Linked DNA regions of Homo sapiens: region 2 is linked to region 1. The links are contacts of gene promoters, found by promoter capture Hi-C in blood cells and fetal thymus (Javierre and others, 2016). All regions are on one chromosome and are shown on one strand. The core of a region is centred on a gene start or on the middle of the fragment in contact, and the rest is flanking DNA. Distances in the headings are between cores, read along the strand shown. Region 1 holds the start of KRT33B (keratin 33B). Region 2 holds the start of LOC105371777 (a long non-coding RNA gene).

The links. The method cuts DNA at HindIII sites, captures the fragments that hold promoters and counts their contacts. A CHiCAGO score of 5 or more calls a contact.
Region 2: a contact is called between a fragment that was not itself captured here and the fragment with the promoter of KRT33B in region 1, in 12 of 17 cell types (neutrophils, M2 macrophages, total B cells and 9 more). The highest score is 8.9, in neutrophils.

Annotation. Positions count from the first base shown.
Region 1 is chr17:41,367,755-41,371,281 of GRCh38, reverse strand. KRT33B (keratin 33B) reads left to right here and starts at 1,469. Exons shown (of 7, transcript NM_002279.5): 1 at 1,469-1,879; 2 at 3,292-3,374. The coding sequence starts at 1,532. The HindIII fragment of the contact is 2,505 bases long and covers 360-2,864 here.
Region 2 is chr17:40,847,286-40,850,849 of GRCh38, reverse strand. LOC105371777 (a long non-coding RNA gene) reads right to left here and starts at 52. Exons shown (of 3, transcript XR_934754.3): 1 at 1-52. The HindIII fragment of the contact is 1,881 bases long and covers 567-2,447 here.

The DNA of each region.
Region 1 (3,527 bases), core at 220-2,719:
CAAGCTGTGAAGGCAAGTTTGAAGGAAGGGTGATCTGAGGAATGGCAGGTCACCTGTAGGAAAAGAATTCTTGTATGGCAAGACTTAATATGTAGCTTCCAAAAGGAACAACTTGGAGGAGTATCTTTCAGAATTTGAGCACTGATAGATTAAACATAAAATCCTCATATTTCATAGTTCCATCTGGAATGCATGAGAGTAGAGCATCTGCTTGCCAAAATGTGCCAATGGTCATAAAATGCCACTTCATGCACATGACATAGTGGTGGATTTTCAGGGTCATATCCTTTGGAGAGCTAGGCTTGGGTATTTCTCCCTCAGATCAACCAAGGGTTTCCTTTTTTTTTTTTTTTCAAGCTTCTAGTGGGTATGAGGCATTTTCACTTAGTAAACTTCCTTCCTTCAGCATAGAAGTGACTTTTGGTTCTTTAATAAGTAAAAAACAGGCTTGTTATTTTTTGGCCCATTCTAATTTAGGATATTGTCAGCACTGATTGAGCTCAATGGAGCTCAATCTGTATTTTTTGCATTATTGCATCTCAGTACTGAAAAGATTGGAAGAGAGAGACATGTAATATGACAGAGTGTGGACATTGGAATTAGAGAGATCTGTATTTGAACCCTGGCTCCATCATGTAGGAGCTCTGTGACCTTGGGAGACCTCTCAGAGGCTTAGGGTCCTTATCTACAAACCCTTGCAGCATTTTGAGAGGACTGAAGGAGCTGGTGCATATGAGGTGCCTGGCACTGTGCCTGGTGCACAGTGGAGGCTCAGCAAGCAGGACCCATCACCAATGACAGAGTCACGCTGTGCACAGGCATGGAGCACAGTGCTTCATGCAGAGTAGGTGCTCCCAAAATTTAGGTTTCTTAATGTTCTGTGAACACTGAATACTAGTAGAAACGGAGGTGGGTGGCTTCCTGCAGCCCCATAGGAAGAGGGTAGAGTTGCCTCCATCTGCCTGGATGGAACTGCAAATGGGCCTTGAACCAATGGCCTTGTAAGTCCTTTCTCATTTCAGCTTCCAGGATTCCCTATCACATAGTCTAGTTTCTAGACGGGTTTCCTTACATGGCTTTTCTCACAGAGTCTTAATTGAATATGAACTGGATGAGACACAAGCCTTTCCTCATTTAGGAGAAAGAGGCACATATGTGCCCCCTACTCTGGGGACAGGGCCCAGCTGTCACTCTAGCTCAATGTCCCATGGATAAGCACTGCTACAGGCAAGGTTGGTCACTTTGAAGCCAAACCATGAAGCTCTTACTTAACCAATCAGCATGTTTTGTGAGGAGTCCTGACTTAGCAAGAAGCCAGAGTAAAACATTTAATGAGGTATAGGACTCAGGTGAAGTGGCTAAATAACAAATGGAAAAATCAGCAAAGGAGGTAAAAAGGAGGAATACTTGACATGGTTGCCACACCCACTGCTAACAGAATATAAAGCCCTGGAAAGGACCAAGGCTTATCCCAGGGAAAAGGAATCAGGTTTTGAAACTGACTTCCAGAGCTCCACTGCCTCCCTGCACCATGCCCTACAACTTCTGCCTGCCCAGCCTGAGCTGCCGCACCAGCTGCTCCTCCCGGCCCTGTGTGCCCCCCAGCTGCCACGGCTACACCCTGCCCGGGGCCTGCAACATCCCTGCCAATGTGAGCAACTGCAACTGGTTCTGCGAGGGCTCCTTCAATGGCAGCGAGAAGGAGACTATGCAGTTCCTGAACGACCGCCTGGCCAGCTACCTGGAGAAGGTGCGTCAGCTGGAGCGGGACAACGCGGAGCTGGAGAACCTCATCCGGGAGCGGTCTCAGCAGCAGGAGCCCTTGCTGTGCCCCAGCTACCAGTCCTACTTCAAGACCATTGAGGAGCTCCAGCAGAAGGTGAGGAGGTGGGCACCACACTGCCAGCTTAATGAACTACTTATCTATATTTGACATACTAAACTGTGAATGGATCTAAGTCTGTTCACAGTAATGCTGAGAATGATAAAGACATAGATTCACTGGCTTAGGTATGACATCAAGTAGTCTTAGAAAATCTGTTGTAGAGCCACAAAGGAAGGATGCAGGCTGGTGTTAGAGTGAAGCATTAGACCAAAATCAGTCATAGCAATCTTATATGGCGTCTTACTCCAAACCAGAATATCTGATTTTTTGGTTTGATTATGATACCCTGGTTTTGTTTTCAGAGCATTACCGCATTTTCAAAAAGTATGCACCTGAATTATTTTCTATGCTAAGAATTTCCTAAGTAAATCTTCAAATATTTAAAGCCTTTCAAAGCTGTAGCAAAATATAGCATTTATGGCAACACAAGAGAGCTGTTGACTCCAGCAATATCTACAGACACATGGACCATCCTCTAGAGCAGCCATGTGTACAGATGACAATATGGGGCCATCTGTTCTGGAAGAGAAGTAGATATAAGTAAAGAGTCCACAGAGAATTGGGACTGAATACCTGGTGTAGGTTTGGGAGGGATCCCAGAAGAGGCAATGTCTGAGTGGGGTTTGAAGGATGAGTGGGAGTTTATATCCAATTGTACAAGCCCTTGATTCTGGGAGGGAATTGACTGCCCACTGTTCTGTAGATCTGGAAAATTAGATGCCAGAAAGGGGTTGTGCTATTTGAATATCATTCATTTATTTACCCAGAGTTGGAGAGTGTTAGGCACAGTGCTGGGGTGGGGGATAATGTACTGAGTAAGACAGTCTCCTTCCTTCAGGAGCTCACAGTCTAACAGGGGAGATAGATGTGGAAACAAAATGATCACACAAAGGTCATAAGAAGTGTTATTGATTAAGTATGTGGGTTACACAAGGGGTCTTGCTAGTGGGTGAGGGCATTCTGGGTACAGCAAGAAGCTTTTTGCAAAGGCATGAACAAGGGCAATATGAGGGGAGAGTGGAGAGAAGTTAGCAGGTGGAATGTGTTGGATAACCAAGTTGTTCTGGCTTGCCTGGGATTTTTCCCATTTTAGCATCCCAGAAACCCCTCAGTCCTAAGTTAACTGGGATGGTTGGTCACCCAACCGAAGGGTTGGATACCCAGTAACCTAATTATTGCAGGAAGCCAGAAGCAGATAAGAATAGAATTCATGATGAATTCACATTGGTTGTCCTGGTTTTGAAATGATCAGTTTTATGATCAAATCCTCCTTTTATCTCAGAGCTGAAAATCTGAAAGGACTCAAAGCTATTTGGGAGGAATGTGGCTGAAAGAAAATAGCATTTCACTTTAAGGCACAAGGCATTTCTTAGTATAACCCATTTCATGATTAATCCTATCCCCAGATCCTGTGCAGCAAGTCTGAGAATGCCAGGCTGGTGGTGCAGATCGACAATGCCAAGCTGGCTGCAGATGACTTCAGAACCAAGTAAGATTTTCCTAACCATCAGAGCAGTCTAGTAACGGACAGGCTGAATTACAAAGTGATGAGCTCCCTATCCTGGAATGTGGAAGCAGAAATTTCTATTGGGAGGATTCTTGCATTGGGTTAGGATTAGGTTAAATGTCAAAGCCTCTTCAA
Region 2 (3,564 bases), core at 258-2,757, 520 kb after region 1:
GCAGAAGCTAAGGAGTGTCCATCACAAAGGAAGCAAAGAGGATGGTTTGCATAGATTCCATTTGAATCTATTTGTTTTGGTTACTCTATTTAAAATATGCTTGCGTCATATGAAATTGAATTCCACTTACTTCCTTCTCCTTAAATCTTAATAAAGGAATTAGGCTGGCTGTTTGAGACTAAAAAATCCATCAAGAAGTTGTTTGCATTTTACTGAGATATTTGTTGAATTCAATATTTCCAGAAAACCCTCAAGATACTTGTCACTCTATAGGGACACAAAATTTTCTTATCTAATATGTACAATCTTTAACTTGACAATTTCACAAGGCATATTGATATAAATCATATTGCTCAATATCTGGTGACTCAGTAGAAAGTGATCTTCAGTTTCAACAAGCAGTCTTTTAATTCATGACGCTTTTTCTTAAGGAAATTAACCTGAGGACTTTTTCCCATACATCTAAAGAGTACTAGAAGTTGCTTTCAAAACATAGAGTAACTTGGTTTCCATGTAGTATTTATAAGAAAAAAAAATCTGTAGATATTCACTTATAAAGGCAAGCTTGGAATCCTCTAATTCGTCATTAAAGTGTGCTTTGTATGTAGGCAATCGCCTAACCATAGATACAAAACTGAGTTATCTTAAAATGGCTGATGGAACACTGGCTTTCCATGAAAATATTCAGTCTGAAAATGTAATACTCCTGCCAATCTAGATCAAAATAGAACTTGTTCTCCCTTAATAACGAGGTGTTCTATCTAAAAAACATTGTGCTCTCTCTCTTTGGTGGTCTAGCAGTTAGGAATAAAAATTAAAAATAAGTAAAATACACTTTTCTCTCAATCAAACTAATATTTACTGGTCACTATGGAAGCAAATGGGAGCGGACTAGTCAGGTATGCAAATAACCTTGCCTCGCCAGGTATAAAGTGACCTGCCACAGAAGTTTGGAAAAGGGAGGTAATATAAAGGGCTGGGATATGAGGACCACTCTTTACAGCAGAAAGGCATCTGAGCAGAGCCTTGAGGAGTACATAAAATTTCAACATATGGTATTAAATGGGAGTGGATTGGCAAGAATAGGACCAAAGAGCGTGTCCTCTGGAGTGTTTTCCCATAAAACTAAGTAATCATCACACCAGCTGAGAACCATAAGTTCCTTGACCCAGGTAGTCTGCACTTCCTTTTTAGAAGACGAATTTTTGTATCTTATTCCTCCTCAAAGGCTGGGCCAGGTATTATTGGCCATCCAGAAATAAGTCCCCAGTACTTAATGCAGCATCTGGCAGAAAATGTGGGCATGCCAAATACATGTAGGTTGAAATGATGTTTAGAAATATCACATTAGGTTTATACATTCATAACACATGATTGAAAAATTCCGGTAAACGGATTAGCTAAAATCCAATGAAAATTATTAATTAAGCCTTTCATTTGGCACAATTAAAAATAAAACCCTATGTTGATTGAATTTTTCATTTTGGATCCAATTATGCTGTCACATAGGTATAGCTGGAGTATATGAGTCACCCAAAATTCTATTAATCAAATCTAGAAATAATAATATAATAATGTGTGTTAATCATTCTAATACAGCAAATGAGACACAGAAAAACAAAACCAACAATATTGTAAATTACCCAATGATCAATCTTTGTTGGAAACAATGTCCTACTCAGCAGTGGGACAAGAGCAATACCTAAGAGTTGAACAACCCAGAAGAAAAAATATGAATCGTCAGGGAAAGTCTGCTTAGAGGGAAATAAGAATCCAAGGTGTATTGCTAGATTTTGCAATAACTAGATGTGGCAATACAGAAATGTGATTTTAATTGGAGGAGGAAGATAATTATAGCTTGCAAGCCAACTAGTTAATCTAAGTGACAAACTTTGGCCCCACACCCAAGAAAAGAGGGTGAACCCAAAATAGGAGTTTATCAAGTTTCCATTACAAATGTGTTCAAGACACCTGAGCCACCCTGAAACCAAACCCTGAAACCAAGGAGTGGTGAGGGGGGGGGGGGGGTTATAGGTTACTAATAATTAATTATTAAATTTAAATAGTTTCTATAAATTTACATATGAAAACAATAAATTCTGTGTTATATCTTTGGAAGTAGCATTATGCTGGTGATCAAGTGCAATGGGATAAAACACAGTTAGCAGGCATTCCTTAAAAAATATTCCCTAAGCTAATACTAGAAACAGAAAAAGAGAGGTCAGATTAATCCTACAGATTTAGAAGTGATCCAAGTTAAGGCAACCTACATGATAATGGAATTGAAAACCACGTCATCTAAGGAACAGTTGAATGAACTGGTGATCCATAACCTGGAAAATAAAAGACTTAGAAACACAGAGTAATCTTGTCAAATACCCAAAAGATTCTCCATCAGCAAAGCTATATTCTGTGTGGCAGATTTCAGTTAAATAGAAAGATAAGCTTTTTAATAATTAGAGCACTTCAAAGGAAGGTGAAGTGCTTCATGAGACAATGAGTTTCTCATCACTAGAAATATTTTAGTAGAGATTGGAGATATCTGATAAGGGGTTCCGTTTAGTGTTGAATATTTAACAAGAGAAGAAAGAAAGGACAGATGTCTATGAGTACCCACTGTGTAGAACACTTTGTAGAAGAACACTTTGTATGTGTTATCTAAATTGGTATTCTCAGATTTATGAATTGGATATTATTTCTCACGTGAAGATTAAAAGAGATTAAGCAATTTACCATACACCCTGTAACAGGCAATGCTGGAAGGTGAAGCCTGGCAATGACCTCTAATATCCTTTGCAAATTCTGTTCTGGTTGAAGCTATAACAGTGAATGTATTATTGGTCTAGATAATTCTATCCTGATAATTTGTCTATTTATCCAGTCTGGTATTATTTCTGTCAGAATATCCACAGACTTTTGGCCAAAGAGCATATTTAGCTTCCCCCATGACATTAAATTCAAAAGATAAATCATACTTTAGGTTCTTTCCAGCTGAATTCTGTAATTTTGATGACCAGAATTCCTAGCAACTCATTTACACTAGAAAGGGCAGAGTTTTGGGGCCGGGTACGGTGGCTCACGCCTGTAATCCCAGCACTTTGGGAGGCTGAGGCAGGCAGATCACAAGGTCAAGAGATTGAGACCATCCTGGCCAATATGGTGAAACCCCATCTCTACTAAAAATACAAAAATTAGCTGGGCGTGGTGGCACATGCCTGTAGTCCCAGCTACTTGGGAGGCTGAGGCAGGAGAATTGCTTGAACCCGGGAGACAGAGGTTACAGTGAGCTGAGATTGCACCACTGCACTCCAGCCTGGGCGACAGAGCGAGACTCCATCTCAAAAAAAAAAAAAAACAAAGAAAGAAAGGGCAGAGTTTTTATTCACATGGCTCAATTCAGGCAATTGGTTGTGGGCTTCCTGGATTAATTTTATTAAGAATAATTCTCCAGCCAGTCTGGGTTCAGCAGGAAGATGTGTTATCAATTAGTAATGTCTGACATGAGTACAGGAGAGTGGCAGCAAGAATGACTTGTGTTTGTTCTCTCTAAGCTCCACATTTCCT